Regions from separate parts of the Homo sapiens genome. Here region 1 is linked to region 2. The links are contacts of gene promoters, found by promoter capture Hi-C in blood cells and fetal thymus (Javierre and others, 2016). All regions are on one chromosome and are shown on one strand. Each heading gives the region's core, a stretch centred on a gene start or on the middle of the fragment in contact. The rest is flanking DNA. Distances are from core to core; before and after follow the strand shown. Region 1 holds the start of RBM41 (RNA binding motif protein 41). Region 2 holds the start of FRMPD3 (FERM and PDZ domain containing 3).

What was found. The method cuts DNA at HindIII sites, captures the fragments that hold promoters and counts their contacts. A CHiCAGO score of 5 or more calls a contact.
Region 1: a contact is called between the fragment with the promoter of RBM41 here and a fragment that was not itself captured in region 2, in 1 of 17 cell types (naive B cells). The highest score is 5.1, in naive B cells.

Annotation. Positions count from the first base shown.
Region 1 is chrX:107,117,572-107,122,531 of GRCh38, forward strand. It overlaps RBM41 (RNA binding motif protein 41), which reads right to left and starts at 1,251. Exons shown (of 8, transcript NM_001324242.2): 1 at 1,195-1,251. The coding sequence starts at 1,202. RefSeq lists enhancers at 555-634, 1,015-1,204. The HindIII fragment of the contact is 8,519 bases long and covers 289-4,960 here.
Region 2 is chrX:107,449,573-107,454,276 of GRCh38, forward strand. It overlaps FRMPD3 (FERM and PDZ domain containing 3), which reads left to right and starts at 80. Exons shown (of 15, transcript NM_001388459.1): 1 at 80-433. RefSeq lists an enhancer at 1,287-2,201. The HindIII fragment of the contact is 4,980 bases long and covers 1-3,740 here.

The sequences.
Region 1 (4,960 bases), core at 1-2,500, 330 kb before region 2:
AGATGGAATAAATGATTTGGGAAAGGGAAAGTCAGTATTGTTTTAGCCACATTGAGTCTAGTAGCTTTTACAATAGAAACGCCAGCATGAAGTATCAGGAATACTTCAAATACATGACTAGGAACATTTTGTTTAGGGATAAATTCATATGTACTAGAAACTATTTGCTTTTTTAAAAGCAAGGGAATTAATAACACAAAATTCCGGATAGTGGTCACCTCAGGGGGGAACGAAGGGAGGGAAGAGACACAGTAGACTTCTAAGGGACTGGCAATGTCCTATTTCTTAAGCTTGTAGTGGATGCGAACCTTTATTATTCTTTAAGCTGTATATATACATTATACATTATTTCGCATGGAGGAGATATCATAAAAAAATATTAAAGGTTAGTTTCAGGCAGGCAAAGTCATAAACGGTTTTTTAAAAGATGCAAGGAACTGACAGTGCAGGAAAGCATATCAGTAAGAATTTTAAATGCACTGCACTATTCCAGAGTGATGATTCTACTTGCAGAGTGAATCTAAAATTAATTTAAGCCCGTCAATAGTTAGGAGGCTCAGGCCATTTAGGCTCAAGCGGCCATTTACCTCAGGACAAGTAAGGGGAACTGAGCCCAGCAATGCCTTCCACCTCCCCTCCCCCCACCCCATAAATCGAACCGCTTTGGTGCTGTCCTTCCACATTTAGAAACAAAGTACCGCTCCCTTACTTTAAGATTCGAAAGCGCTACATGGTTTCGGGGCCCAAGCAAGTAGTCTTTAACACACAGACGTTGCAAATAAATGCGCCCGCCCCGAGCCTTTCTCAGGTGGAGGTGGAGGTAGGGGAGAACGGCGAGGGGCTGGCCCGAGGTACCTACATCTCCGGCGCCGGGAATTTGTCAGCCTCAAACCCTTTTGCCCAGCTGGGTCCGGGTGAAACGACGAAGCCGCAGCACCCGGCCAGCTCCCGGGGCCCGTGCCGGGAGGGCATTCCCACAGCAGCCGGCCCCGGTGGCAGCCCTTCCTGAACTTCGCTCTGCAGGCCTGTTCAGCCCGTCTCCCCTCCTCCCGTCTCCTTTGTCGTGTTCCCGCTCCCACGAAACCGCATCCTGAGAACGTGCAATACCCAAACCAGAAAGCAATGGAAGCCATTTTCAAAAGAAAAGGTAGAACAAAGCTCCCCTTGCCGCCTGCTCTTCAGACAAGTCCTTACCTCTTCATGTTTCCACAGGCCCCTACCTCCAACTTGGGTAAATAGGCCGCGGACCTCAAGTCCCAGAACTCCGCGCGGCGGACTTCTAAGGGTATTGTGATGGAGCATGGGGCTCTGGGAATTGTAGTAGCACAGAGCTATGGCAACAGAAAGAGAAAGTAGATCTCAAGTGACAGGTATGCTGAACATTGTCCAAATATTTATTTTGAATTTCTCATTTAGGTTCAAAAGAAGACCCAAAATATCCAGCTCATAAAACGAGTCACCTTTGACTTCTTGATTCTCTCATCCATTACCACTAATTCCTGGCTCTTCTGTAATTTCCTTTGAACTTATCAACACTGCTTTTCTTTCAAGGATTTATCCAGCCTACCTACCGTTTCCAGTCGAGCCTCTGCTTCATCCTTCACGATGTAGCCAGAGTCATCAGACACGAGTCTGACTATATCACCTGTACTAATGGTTCTCCTCTATCTGTAACAGAGACTTGAGAGTTTTCTCCACTCAGAATCAGAAGTCTGTGTATGTTCAGGCCCACATATGTTTTATTGATAATTATGGTGAATCAAGAAAGAGGTATAGTATAGTGGTTAAAAGCATAGGCTCTTAGTTTCCAGAAATGGAAATGCAAATGTCTTTAAGTGTATGAAAAGATGTCCAATCTCACAAATTTTAAAGTACACTGACTACCAGTACTCCTTAAAACTAGCAAGGTCATCAAAAACACAAGAATCTGTCACAGCCAAAAGGAACCAAAGGAGTCATGATGACTAAAGTAATGCAGTATCTTGGATGGGATCCTGGAAAAGAAAAAAAGACATGAGGTAAAAACTAAGGAAATGTGAACAAACTATGCTCTTTAGCTAATAACAAGGTTCGTTAGCTGTGACAAATGTATCAGAGTTATGCAAGGGAAACTGAGTTGTACGTATGTGGAACTTTGTACTATGCAACCTTTCTGTATCTAAAACTGTTCTAGAACTTAAAGTTTATTTTTAAAAGTACATTAAACTACCATTTTTCACCTAACAGATTGGGAAAGATCCAAAAGTTTGATAACACACTTGTTTTATTGAGATTGTGGGGAAACGGGCGCTCTCAATACACTAGTGGTAGGAATATAAATTGGTACAACATCTATTGGGGGCAAATGAGGATACTACTAAAATCATAAATGTACATTCCCTTTAAAGCAGCAATTCAGTTATGAATAGAATCCTCAATACTATATATCCTCTAACCTACTATCATTCCTTGCAACATTGTTTATGAAAACAGAAATGAAAATATCCAAGAACATACTATGAAAATGTATCATTCAATGAAAAACTATGCAGCAGTTACCAAGATGACAAAGTTCTCTATGAACTGCTACTAAACAATCTCCAAAATATAGTTAGTGCAATAGCAAGGTGCAGAACGATATGTATACTATGCTTCTATTTGCATAAAAAGGGGAGCTCTAGTCACTTAAAAACATATATATGTGTGTTTGCTTGTATATGCACAAAATATGTTTGGGAGAACTTACAGACAAATGATGAGTGAATGCCTCCAGGTAGGGGAACTGGATGGCTGAGGGACAAGGGCAGAAAAAATTCTTCACGTATCTTTTTGTGCCCTTTGAATTTTGAACCCATGACTACATTACCTAGTCAATACTTTTTTAATTAAAGAGAAACCCTCTTACATCTCAAGAAGCCAAAGAAGAAAAGATTGTAGGTAATGGTGGGGGGCGGGGCACACTACTTGGATTTGAATCTCACTTCTCAGTTGACAGTATAGCACGACAGGGTTTTAGAGGCAATCTGGACTTGAATTTTTGCTCTGGTAAGTTACTAGACCATGTGGGTTTCAGTAAGTTTCTTAACTGGTCTAGGCCAGTTTTCTCATCTGTAAAATGAGGATACCTCCTAAGTATAGGGTGACTGTCAAGCACATACAAAGGTATGGTTTTAAAGTTATTCCATGATTGAGTGGTAATCTATGAGTAAATAGTCAAATGTTAATCAGTAGATTTAGACTTATCCAAACTGCTTTGTATTTCCATGCTCAAGTTAGAGCAAAGGACCAAAAAGCAGCTACTGAAAAACATTGTAGAATTTCCTGTCCTGAGAACTTCTATCAGATTGAAAATGTCATGGTGAGCTACCTAAGACCTGTCACATGCAAATAACTGTGCTCTTGAATCATAAAGGTGAATGACTGCAGGCATAGCATGTACCACTTTGTAGCTTTGGCACAGAACGTGAACTGAATATAAGTATAAACAAAACGGGGGGTCACATCATTGCCTGCACCAGGTAAATCCTATATGGTGGTAGAGCTGAATTTTGTGGCTCAACCAATCTGTCCCAATTGACATATTGACAAGGAAATGGAAAAATACACCAAGGTTGCTAGTGTGCTTATCCCCTGGGACGGTGGCAAAGGATGGAACAAATATTACACCAACCATCACACCAAACTTGTGTACAACTTCTAATAAAACATATAGCCTATTGATACTGAAATGATACACACTACATTGCAAATCCACTAGGTGGGATGAGTGGAGAACGAATAGCTAAGATACATATTCACATAGCTGTGGAATTGCAACTGGAAAGCAAGGTCATAAGAAGTACTCTACATACCTGTGTATAACTGTAACCAGCGCAAGTGATAGGTACAAACAGACAAACATTCAGAAAATTACACTAAAAAGAAAACCAGGCCATTTCTAATTCTGCCAAACTTGTTAACTGTGTAATAATAGTTATTCTGTTTCCCACAACATTCTTCTCCCCAGCTTAAAAGGACATCAGACAGTGTATACAAAGCCTTGGAGATCTCTAGATGTTATACATGGGCACAGAGATCTTACCTAATTTCACAATTTTACCCCTAGAAGAATTTATGACAAACCGAAAAATATGCCTCATTTGTCTTTCTGTCAATTTAACAAGGTTAGTTTAATTAATCCAGAAGCTCCTTCTTAACAGAGACACATTTTCTGAGTTTGTCCTTTTTAGGTGCTTTGTTTGTGGCACGCTTCTGAAGACTACATTATGAAGCAGTTATGATTCCAAGATATGGAAGAAGATGTTAAAACCAAAAATCTTCTCTTGAATCTACTCACCATCTTATATTAAGAGTAAACAACTGTGCAAGTCTTTCAAATTTCCCAAATGAAATAGCATAAATGCTGTTATAGAGAACAAATATAGCATCTTTTCAAAGGATTAAAAAATGGGTATGTACTGGGATAGTGTCAACACTTTAAATTTAAGAATTCTTCAGCTAATATGTCAGCTGGTTAACAATGGTTACGAGGGGCTGAAGACTCCAGTGCCTAACATAAATGATGCTTTAACATTACTGGTAAAAATAGCTTATTTCTGTATTTCTGACCTTTTAATTAAGATTTGTCAACGTGACTGGGCACGGTGGATCACGCCTGTGATCCTGGCACTTTGGGAGGCCAAGGCGGGTGGGTCCTTTGAGCCCAGGAGTTCAAGACCAGCCTGGGTAACATGGCAAAACCCCATCTCTACAAAAAACTCAAAAATTAGCTAGGTGTGGTGGTGTGCACCTGTAGTCCCAACTACTTGGGAGGCTGAGGTAGGAGAATCACTTCAGCCCAGCAGGCAGGGGTTGCAGTGAGCCAAGATCACGGCACTGCACTCTAGCTTAGGTGACAGAGCAAGACCCTGTCTCAAAAAACAAACAAAAAAAAATTGTTCAACAATGTCATTTCTTTACATGTTAGAAATGGTCAGGAAGA
Region 2 (4,704 bases), core at 1-2,500:
CCTCCCCCCGCCCCTTCTCCCCTCCCCTCCTCGGCCGTCCGGCCGCCTCGCCGCCATCCGTCACCTCGCAGCCTGCCGCACTCCTGGAGCGAGAGAGCGACGAGCGAGCCACGGCGATGGTGCCGCCCGCGGCGCAGCCATGAAGCCCGCCCGAGGAGCCCGCGCGCGCTCCTGCCATCCTGCCCGCAGCCCGCCGCCTGCGCGCCAGCTCCCCGCGTCCCGGGCCAGCTGCTGCCGCCCTGCCAACCTCTGCCCGCCCCGCCGCCCGGCGCCACTGAGCCCCAAGCCCATGCCGGGCTCGGGGGCACGGGTGCCCTAGTCCCGCTGCCGCCGCCGCCGCCGCCGCCGCTGCGCCGCCGCTGCCGCGCCGCTGAGGAGGCGGAGGAGGAGGAGGAGGAGGAGGAAGAGGAGGAGGAAGAGGAGGGGGAGGAAGGTAAGAGGCGCGCTGCCTTCAGGGGGGCGCGCCCGCTGTCTCAGCCCAACCGGGGGTGGGTCGCGGCGGGAGCGTTCCGCCCCGGGCCGGCTGGGGGGCGACTGGCGCTTGGGCGCCCCCGGGAGCCGGGGGCAGGGCGGGGGGCGCCGAACGTCTGGCCGCCCGGAGTTTGGGCGGGCGGGGTAACGGCCCGTTGCGTGCCCACTGCCCCGGCGAGTCTCTGGCTTGGCGGGCTCGTTTGGCCTCCGCGGGTGCGGGGTGAGGAGTCGAGCGCAGGGGAGTGCAGCGCGTTCATTATGGAGCCTTTGTGTGCGCGCCTGGGCTGTGGGCACAGTTGGGAGAGCTGGCGAGACGCGGGGCCTGGCTGCTAGGAGGTGGCCACTTAGCCGGGGTGCCCGGCGAAGCCCGAGCCCAGGGGCTGCCAGAAACAGCTGTCTGAAGCATGTGCGTGGTTCCCGGGGCCATGTTCACAAGCGGACACGGAGGCGCACACACACGCACACACAGCCGCACAACATACCCGGCGCTCAGCCACACAGTCAGCCCCATGCAAAGACCACACACACACACACACACACACACACACACACACACACAGAGAGAGAGAGAGAGAGCGCGAGCTACACTTGCCCCCTCCCACCAAGATGCTAATAAAGCTCAAACACATATACAGATACATGCACCTCCCCCTAGCGCTGCTAAAACATGCACACACAAACACACTCCTCTACTCCCCAGCCTAGTGCTTTGGAGGTTGGAGAGTGTGTGTGTGTATGTGAGTGTGTGTGTGTTTTCTCAGAGTGGTCTTGAGAAACTACATGACAACTGCACATTACTGCAGATCCAGTACCTGCTGCTTCCCCCCAATACACACCCAGCAACCCCCCGTCACACGCAGCTACTGTAGACACCTCCACCAGAGCCCTTAAGAACCCCATTCTGGCAAAAAGCGTGCCCAACTCTGGTAGTCATACCCTCCACGCTCGAGCTGTTGGGTTTCCTGCACACACACACCACAGCCCCATACACACACACTGAAACCACTGCAGGGGCAAATGTTTGACACCTTCCCCCAGAAGCAGGTGGCACCTCCACCCTTGCAGCTGCAACTAAAGAGCCCCAGATGACAGCAAACGCCGAATTCTGCTAGACCTGCCCCTCCCCTTGGCATCTTGGTCCAGGTGCAAAACCCTGGAGTCCACCGGGTGGTCTTAGCATCCTGCAGCTCTTACGGAGGGCGGGGCAGTCTCTGGACTCCTGCCTTCGGAGGAACTGCTATAAGCGCAAGGCTCCCTTGGGGGCGCCCTTCTCGAAGTGGAGGGTGGGGGATTCTATGCTGACTCAGAGCGAAGCACCAAGTGAGTTTTCCCAGCTGGAGACCGGGGTAAATGGCGAACTCCACCTGGGCCTAGAGGACCCGGGATAGTGTGCCAGTTCAGCCACAGAGGCCCTCAGCTTGGAGGCCCTGCCCCTCCCTCGCCTTCCTTGCCCATGAAGCTCACTGCAGGAGAAGCAGGGGGAACCCAGCTGCCAGCTTCTTGGGAGCTAAGAGAGGCTTTTCGGGAAGCCTTTGCTGTTTCCGCTGAGCAAAGAGATCTTGCTCTACCCGGGGAGACCTCAACAAGACTTGGCCGTGCCCAAGCAAACATGCCAGCGTCTACCCAATTTCATGGCTTGTTTTTTTGTTTGTTTGTTTTTGTATTTCATGTGAAAGGACTAATTCAACCTTAGCAGCTTGTCATGAAGGCACCCCTGAGGTTAAATAAGGCATAATGTATTGTGGATGGGGGAAACAAGGTTGAGGGGAGCAAGGACTAGTGGGTTTTACTGTTTTAAGTAGAGATGCGGAGTTAGAATGTAGACCGTGGTAAAATCGTGACGGCGATGGCTTCTACGTCAGAGCCCCTTCCCTGCTCCTGCCCCTCCCGTCGGCTGCTCAGGGCTCCTCTGGGTCCTCTCCCCCGCCCCCTTAGATTATTTAGGCGGGGCTTTGCTCACTGCTCGGGCAAATTTGATGACAGAATCCCTGCCAGGCCAAGGTGTTAATAGCTGATAGAGGTTTACTGCTTACACCTCACAGGTAACATTTGCATTTTTAAAGGACACAGAGGAGTGACTCTGTTGGTGGGGCTTTCAGGCACCTGTGGCAGGACTCAGGCAGGAGCAGTTTGTGGACAACCTCATCTGTCTACTCTACTGTCTGTGCCTAGGCCAGAGTTATGGGTGATGTGTGTGTGGGAGTGAGGGTGTCAGAAGGTGAGATGTAATTGTGGAGGGTTTTGAGGCCCACAAAGAGAAGGTTTCAATTGACTTGAGAGGCAATTGGGAGCCACTGCCAGATTCTGAGAAAGGAGGGAATAAGATATAAGCAGGAAAGAAACACTCATTGCTGCATGTGGAGAGAATATCCCCTATCTCTCGCTGGCACCCAACACCACAACCGCCTTGCAGTTGTGGGCTGAAGGCCACCAGGGAGAGGAGACTGGCCAGGGGAGGGTGGCAGCTGCCCCAGGCTTCTGGCCCTGAGGGTTTCCCAGATATGTGAGGCATTCTGCTGAGTGGCCAGACTATTGGCCTGAACTCAGTAAGTGCCCCCTCCAACATAAGCTCGTGATGCTGTTGGTGCTATGGCTTCTTTGGATAGTGCAACAGAGCCTCTACCCCACTGGAGGAGAGGTCTGGGGACTCCTATGAGGCTGCGAGCTGCATTTGGAATGAGTCAGGGGACCCCTCCCTCTTGTAAGTGGTGCAGTCCGAGGGTCTTGAGAAGTGAGCTGTGTGGCCCAGTTGGGGGATTTTGTGACCAACGACATCCTCTAGGAGCAGTAGTAGATTGAAAAAGTGCAACAAGAAAGCCCTGGGATTGCTGATGATAGCAGCAAGCTGGGAAAGGCTTGCTGGAGATGGGGGTGGGGGTGGGTAACAGAGGAGTCTCGGGTGGGATGAGTAGAGGAGAGGAATTGCCCCACCGCAGTAATCCTTACTTCAGCCCTTGGAGGGAGCATGGGTGGATGCAGGACAACGGAAGCACTCTGTACCCACCCTCCCCCACTACGCATAAATGATTGGACTCCGTGGCTAATGCCTGATAAGGCACTTGGAGGGGCAGCACCAATGCAACAGAGGAAAGATCCCTGTTTTTGTGGCACCTCCAGGCTAACTGAATGAAGCCATAAGACACACATACATACACATACACACAAATACACACACACATATCACACACAAGACACACACCCCTCAGACACACCCTCAAACCCCAACACATACCTGGGGCAAATTGTGGAAAGAGAGGCTCATGCAGACAAGCTTGGTTTTGGGGGGTTCTTGCCTTCACATATAGGCCCTAGCAATCATTGCTAGGGGGACTAGAATTGATACCTATTGATACTAGATGAAGACCCTTAGCTTTGACAGGCCCCCTGGGAGGAAGCACACTCAAGTCAGCTTCTGTTTGTGGGGCAGCCTTAAGGCCATTAGCATTCCCAGCAGAAAATTCTGTTCTGGCTCTTCTCTCAAGGACTTCTATTTTCCTTTTTACCATAAGTTCAGAAACAAAAACATTCTCTTGCATTATCGGCAGCCAAAATGAAGGACTCTCAAAATGGGGTGGACCTTATTGTCTGCTGAGAAATCCTGGGGCTAGGGGCAAAGGGGTAGGGTAGGGAGCAAATCCAGAGAAACATGCCATTTTCCCTCCTTTCCTCCCCTCAGCTGAGCTGCCAAAGGCAAGGACAGTGATCTTGGGGTTCTGTATTATTTCCCACCCATGACAGGCAGAGCACCCTTTTCTGAGACCTGAGGCACCATCCTTAAAACAGAACATTAACAGCCTGTGGCACACTAGTGCCCAATCCCTGGTAGTCAGAAAATGAGCCTGGAAATGGGAATATGTGTATAACGTGGGGCGGGGAAAGGAGAGAGAGGGAAAGAGGTGCTACTTGTGTATCTGTAGGAGCAGGTGTGTCTATTTCTGTGTGTTTGTGTTAAGGAACATGAGAATGAGCAGGTGTGTGCACTCTTGCAGCTTTCTCAGCATGCATGCCGTAGCCAGTGTTTTTGCTCTGTGCCTCAAATTCACTTTGCCATTAGCCACACTACTAGCCACCCGCAGCTTTTGAAAGAACTCTCTGCTAGGTTCTAATATCTGGGTCTCCTTCCAGCCAAGTGACCCCTCCTTTTTTCTCTTTTATTGCTAGTTCTTCTTACTACCCCTCAAATCTGGGTGTTCTCCAGCTCCTCCTGCTTTCCACTTTCTTTATTGACAAGGA